Linked DNA regions of Homo sapiens: region 2 is linked to region 1. The links are contacts of gene promoters, found by promoter capture Hi-C in human tissues and cell types (Jung and others, 2019). All regions are on one chromosome and are shown on one strand. The core of a region is centred on a gene start or on the middle of the fragment in contact, and the rest is flanking DNA. Distances in the headings are between cores, read along the strand shown. Region 1 holds the start of SSRP1 (structure specific recognition protein 1). Region 2 overlaps LOC105369309 (a long non-coding RNA gene).

What was found. The method cuts DNA at HindIII sites, captures the fragments that hold promoters and counts their contacts. A contact is called where the count stands out against the background at its distance.
Region 2: a fragment that was not itself captured here is called in contact with the fragment with the promoter of SSRP1 in region 1 in 2 of the 25 tissues and cell types used here (stomach and thymus).

What each region holds. Positions count from the first base shown.
Region 1 is chr11:57,334,505-57,337,267 of GRCh38, reverse strand. It overlaps SSRP1 (structure specific recognition protein 1), which reads left to right and starts at 1,376. Exons shown (of 17, transcript NM_003146.3): 1 at 1,376-1,538; 2 at 2,028-2,200; 3 at 2,620-2,763. The coding sequence starts at 2,147. It also overlaps a transcript of P2RX3 not described here. RefSeq lists enhancers at 1,238-1,287, 2,138-2,207 and a silencer at 1,458-1,637. The HindIII fragment of the contact is 12,890 bases long and covers 1-2,763 here.
Region 2 is chr11:57,134,287-57,137,281 of GRCh38, reverse strand. The region is part of intron 6 of LOC105369309 (a long non-coding RNA gene); the gene reads left to right. Among named protein-coding and RNA genes, the nearest start is that of LRRC55, 46 kb to the left of the region's middle. The HindIII fragment of the contact is 4,484 bases long and covers 1-2,995 here.

The sequences.
Region 1 (2,763 bases), core at 127-2,626:
CGGGCTGGAGTGCAGTGGCACAATCTCAGCTCACTGCAACCTCTGCCTCCTGGGTTCAAGCAATTCTCATGCCTCAGCCTCCTGAGTAGCTGGGATTATAGGCACCCGCCACCACGCCTGGCTAATTTTTGTATTTTTAATAGAGACGGGGCTTCACCACGTTGGCCAGTCTGGTCTCAAACTCCTGACCTCAAGTGATCTCCCTGCCTTGGCCTCCCCAAGTGCTAGGATTACAGGTGTGAGCCACCGTGCCTGGCCGGGGATGTTTTCACCTTGTTCAAGTTTCCTCAAATCTGAGAAGTGTGCTAAAGTAGTAATAGGCCCTCAATATCTATTTATTAAACCCAGTTGAATTTATTTTGCTAGATAATGCTGGAATAGCCACTACTCAGAGGTTAAAGCTATGAGTTCAGGGGAGAAGGGTGCATTCCTGTTGTCTCTTACCCCAGGATTGATTTAGCAAGCTGGTGTATTGATTGTCAGGGAAATCTTGAGCTTACATATTCTGTACTAATGTCTTCATGTAGGACACATATCAATAGTCATTCTGAACATACAGTCACTGTGATTATGACAGAAGATAACTGGACTGGTGGTGTTAAGGAGGTCTGGGTCCTACCTAGCCTTGTTGCCAACGCACTGAGACCCTGGGCAACTCACTCCCCTTTGGGTCTCAGTTTTCCCATCAGTAAAAGGAGGTTGGGGTAGAAAAACTAAAACATCTTTTCCAGGTCTGGTCTCTGATGTTGCAAAATGCACTCTGGGATTATACGGGGGAGACCTGGCTTCCGCAACCACAGGATGATGTGGTTTCAAATCAGTTCTGGCTCCAAGGTGAATCTGACACCAGGACTTGAACTGGATAAGGCCGTTTGCCAGCCTCTTGGAGGTACCTATAATTTTCGGTTAAGGATGTGAAAATTTTGGGTGTAGACAGTGAACTTGACAGTTCAGCCAGAAAGCAGTGCACCCACGATGACACCAACACCCGCATACTCTCCGCAGCCAGTGGGAGAGGTCGTTTCCTCCCACAACTGTTCAAATACTTCTCTTCTTGTCCCATCGACTCCTTTCCATGACATAGAAACTATTTTGCAGAGAAACGGGCACGCATCATTCCAATACACACCCCCACCCCACCCCTGTACTAAGTCTGATACAATAAAACTACACAATTTCTCTTTAGTATCTAGTCTCGACTGAAGAAGTGTCTGTAGTTTCTAAAGAGCCCTACACACATTTTCTAGGCCGGATTCCCCCTGGGTGAGAGAGGCTTCACGGCAACCACCCTTCCCTCAGGTCCTCCAGAGTCGCTGACGCTCTATGCGACTGTCTCGCAGGCGGGCCCGACTCGCGTCTCTCTAGCCAGCTCATCCTCTCTGTGGCCTGTGTACGGCTTCCGGTGGCGGGACGCGGGGCCGCGCACGCGGGAAAAGCTTCCCCGGTGTCCCCCCATCCCCCTCCCCGCGCCCCCCCCGCGTCCCCCCAGCGCGCCCACCTCTCGCGCCGGGGCCCTCGCGAGGCCGCAGCCTGAGGAGGTAGGTGGTGGTCGTCCCCGGTCCCAGGAAGGCAGGGGCCCCGCTCCCCCACGGGACCCTCGACATGGACCATTCCGCGTTCGCAACCGCGGGGAGCGGGCGAATCCATTATGTGGGGCGGGGGTGAACCGTGGGTCTGGGGCCGCGGGGTGGTGGGAGCGGTGCGAGGGAAACCCTGCACTCTGAGCTGGATTGGGTCGCGTGCGATGTGCGGGCTCCTGGCAGACCCTGGGGTTCCGCTGCTCGTTGCCATGGCTCCCGCCGGAGCGGCCAGAGCGGGCGTCGGGTTGGGTGTCAGCGGTATTCCGGGCCCGGTTCTCCACCCAGGCCTGGACCTGGACCCTCGGGCACTGCAGCGTCCGTCTGTAGGTTTCCAGGCAGAGGAAATCCTGAGACATCCAGGCGCAGCTGGGAGTTGCTACCTGGCTCCATCCGTGAGCACAGCGAGGTGCTGTCTTTCATGCTTATCTGTCTTCCTCTTGAATTCAGATTCCCAACCTGCTGAGCATCCGCACACCCACTCAGGAGTTGGGGCCCAGCTCCCAGTTTACTTGGTTTCCCTTGTGCAGCCTGGGGCTCTGCCCAGGCCACCACAGGCAGGGGTCGACATGGCAGAGACACTGGAGTTCAACGACGTCTATCAGGAGGTGAAAGGTTCCATGGTGAGAATGGCTTGGACAGGTGATACAAGTAGAGAGAAGGAAGGAGGGTAGAGTTTTTGTCCATTAATGAGAGCTTGCTTTGGTAACGTTATTTTGGAAAAAGAAGACTCAGTATAATGTGTACCTAGTGTCTCCACCAACTCAAGGCAATACTGAGAGATAGTCTCAGAGTTATAGGGACCGTATATGCTGTTCAGTTCCCAATTCCTGTTTTACAAATGAGGAAACTGAGAATCTGTTAAGGGTTCTAGATACCAGAGTCTGGTTTAGAATCTAGACTCCTTGGCACCCTCAGCTGTTGCTCCTGCATTGATAATCTGGCCAGTCCACTTGCAGCAGGAATGTGTGTTAGGTAGAGCTGTAGAACCCAGGACATGCTGTGTACTGTCTCCATGCATCTGGGCCTGCTTTTCTTACAGAATGATGGTCGACTGAGGTTGAGCCGTCAGGGCATCATCTTCAAGAATAGCAAGACAGGCAAAGTGGACAACATCCAGGCTGGGGAGTTAACAGAAGGTATCTGGCGCCGTGTTGCTCTGGGCCATGGACTTAAACTGCTTACA
Region 2 (2,995 bases), core at 316-2,815, 200 kb after region 1:
TGTGATGTGTTGCTACTGATGTCTTTCCTCAGTTTGTAAAAAAACTATTTTATTTTAAGCCTGAATTCCTAGGGGTTGCTTCTATTTTCTTCATAGTTTAGGAGTCAGCTGATGTTTGGTCACAGGTTGTGATCAAACACCTTGTATTAGTTTTTCTATTGCTGACATGTACCACAAGCTTAGTGTCTAAACAAAATAAACTTACTATTTTAGTCCTCTTTGGGAATCATTGGGCTAAAATCATGGCATTGGCAAGGCTGTATTCCTCCTCCTCCTCCTTGTTCTCCTCCTCCTCCTCCTTCTCCTCCTCCTCCTCCTTCTCCTCCTCCTCCTTCCTTTTCCTCCTCCTCCTTCCTATTCCTCCTCCTCCTTCCTCTTCCTCCTCCTCCTTCTTCTTCTTCTTTTCTTCTCCTTTTCCTTCTTCTTCTCCTTCTCCTTCTCTTCCCTCTCCCTCCCCCTCCCCCTCCCCCTCCCCCTCCTCCTCCTCCTCCTCCTCCTCCTTCTCCTTCTCCTTCTTCTTCTTCTTCTTGTCGTGCTCCGTTGCCTAGGCTGGAGTACAGTGGCACGATCTTGGTTCACTGCAACTTCCGCCTCCCAGGTTCAAGAGATTCTCATGCCTCAGCCTCCCAAGTAGCTGGGATTACAGGCACCCTCCACTATATCGGCTAATTTTTGTGTTTCTAGTGGAGATGGAGTTTCACCATGTTGGCCAGGCTAGTCTCCAACTCCTGACCTCAAGCGACCCACCCACCTCAGCCTCCCAAAGTGCTGAGATTACAGGTGTGTCACTGTGCCCAGCTAAGGCTGCATTCCATTCTGAAGGCTCTGGGGAAGAATCAGTTTCCTTGCCTTTTCCAATTTCTAGACGGCATTAACCTTGCTTGTCTATGGCTTATGTTCTCCATCTTCAAAGCCTGCTTTTAAAGAGTCCTGTGACTAGATTGGGCCCACCAGGATAATCCAAGATAAACTATCTCAGGGTCCTTAACCTTCATCCCGTCTGCAAAGTCCCATATGCCCTTAACATAGTCACAAGTTATAGGATCAGACCTGAACATCTTTGTGGGGGGGCGGGGAAGAGAGGACTTTATTCTGCCTACCACACACCTCAAGCTAGTGAGGCTTCCATACACTTCTATCAGATCTGTGTGGGTTATCAAAGTTCAGGAAGTTTTCAGGTCAGCCCTGGCCGTTACTCTCAGGTAGGCCATCTTTCATCTTCTCTGCATGTGCTCTGCATCCTCGTGCACCAGGGATCTGTGAAGCCCCTTTAGGACTATCTGGTTTCCTGAATCTCCTTGTTAACTTTCTGGTTAGTCTTCCACCAGGACTGCAATCTCAGGTTAGTAGAGTTGTTGGCTTTCCCAGTTTACTGGTCACGAAGATTGCTAGCATTACTGACAGGGATGATGGATATGGATTTTTTTTTCCCTCCCATTCCAAACCAAGTGAGTCCTCTCTGCAGCAAGTTGCTGGTTTTCACAGCCAGTCCCATTGGGCTAGAACTACCCTGCCGACCAAGCTGGATGGGGATGGGGAGGATGAAAGCAGCTTCAGTCTGAAGCTTGAATACCACAAACTCCTGCAGTTCTTATCCCAAATTTAGCAGTTTTTCATGAATACAAACTTTATTTGCTGTATGGCTCTGTTTGATTTTCAGAGCTCTGAATCATTGTTTTTGACAGTTTTGATTTTAGTATATATAGTTGCTTTTTGGGGAGAAGATTTGCTGACCTCTTCATTTTGCCAAACCAGAAGTCTCTCCTGCCTAATTGGAGGCTTTAGTCCCAATATTATTACATTTAGAATAATTAATAATATTGTCAGTTTCTCAATATACTTTACTGGTATTTGACTGCTTTCTGTATCATGTGTTTATTTGTCCCTCTTTCCCTCCTTTCCTGCCTTCTTTGGGATAATCAAATATTTTGTAGCTGTCCATTTTAATTTCTCTATTGACTTTTTAACTATTTTTTTTGTATTTTTTTAGTGCTGCTCCAGGCAATATACATATTCTTAATTTATCAAGTCTACCTTTAACTAATATTGCATCACTTCCTGTGAAATGCAAGAATCTTACAACAGAAAGACAGCACTTATCTAAACCCATCTTCTATGCTATTACTGACATACAAGTATACCTTCTTTCATTGCGCTTCGCTTTATTATGCCTCTCAGATATTGTGTTTTCATTACAAATAGAAGGATTGTGGTAACCCTGCATCAAGCGAGTCTATTGGTGGCATTTTCTCAACAGCATGTGTTTACTGTGTGTCTCTGTCAAATTTTGGTAATTCAATATTTCAAACTTTTTCGTTATTGTTTATCTGTTACGGTGATCTGTGATCAGTGATCATTGATGTTATTACTGTAATTGTTTTGGAGCACCACAAACCATGCCCGTATACAACACTAATCCATACAAGTCGTGAGTGTTTTGATTACACCACTGACTGGCCATTCAACATCTCTCTTCCTCTCCTTGGACCTCCCTAGTCCCTGAGACACAACAAAGTTGAAATGAGGCCAATTAGTAACCCTGCAAGGGCCTCTAAGTGTTCAAGTGAAAGGAAGAGTTGTACGTCTCTTACTCTATATCAAAGGTAGAAATGATTAAGCTTAGTGAGCAAGGCTCACTAATGTCTTTCATGAATGTCCAAAGCTTTCACTAATGTCAAAAGCTGAGATATGCTGAAAGCTAGGCCTGTCATACCAAACAGTTGGCCAAGTTGTGAATGCAAAAAAAAAAAAAAAAAAAAAGTCCTTGAAGGAAGTTAAAAGTGCTATTCCAGTGACCACACGAATCATAAGGAAGCAAAACAGCCTTATTACTGATGTGGAGGAAGTTTTTGTGGTCTGGATAGAAGATCAAACTAGCCACACAATACTACCTCAAGCCAAAGCCTAATCCAGAGCAAGTCTCTTCCATTCTGTGAAAGCTGAGAGAGGTGAGGAAACTGCAGAAGAAAAGTTTGAAGTTAGCAGAGATTTGTTC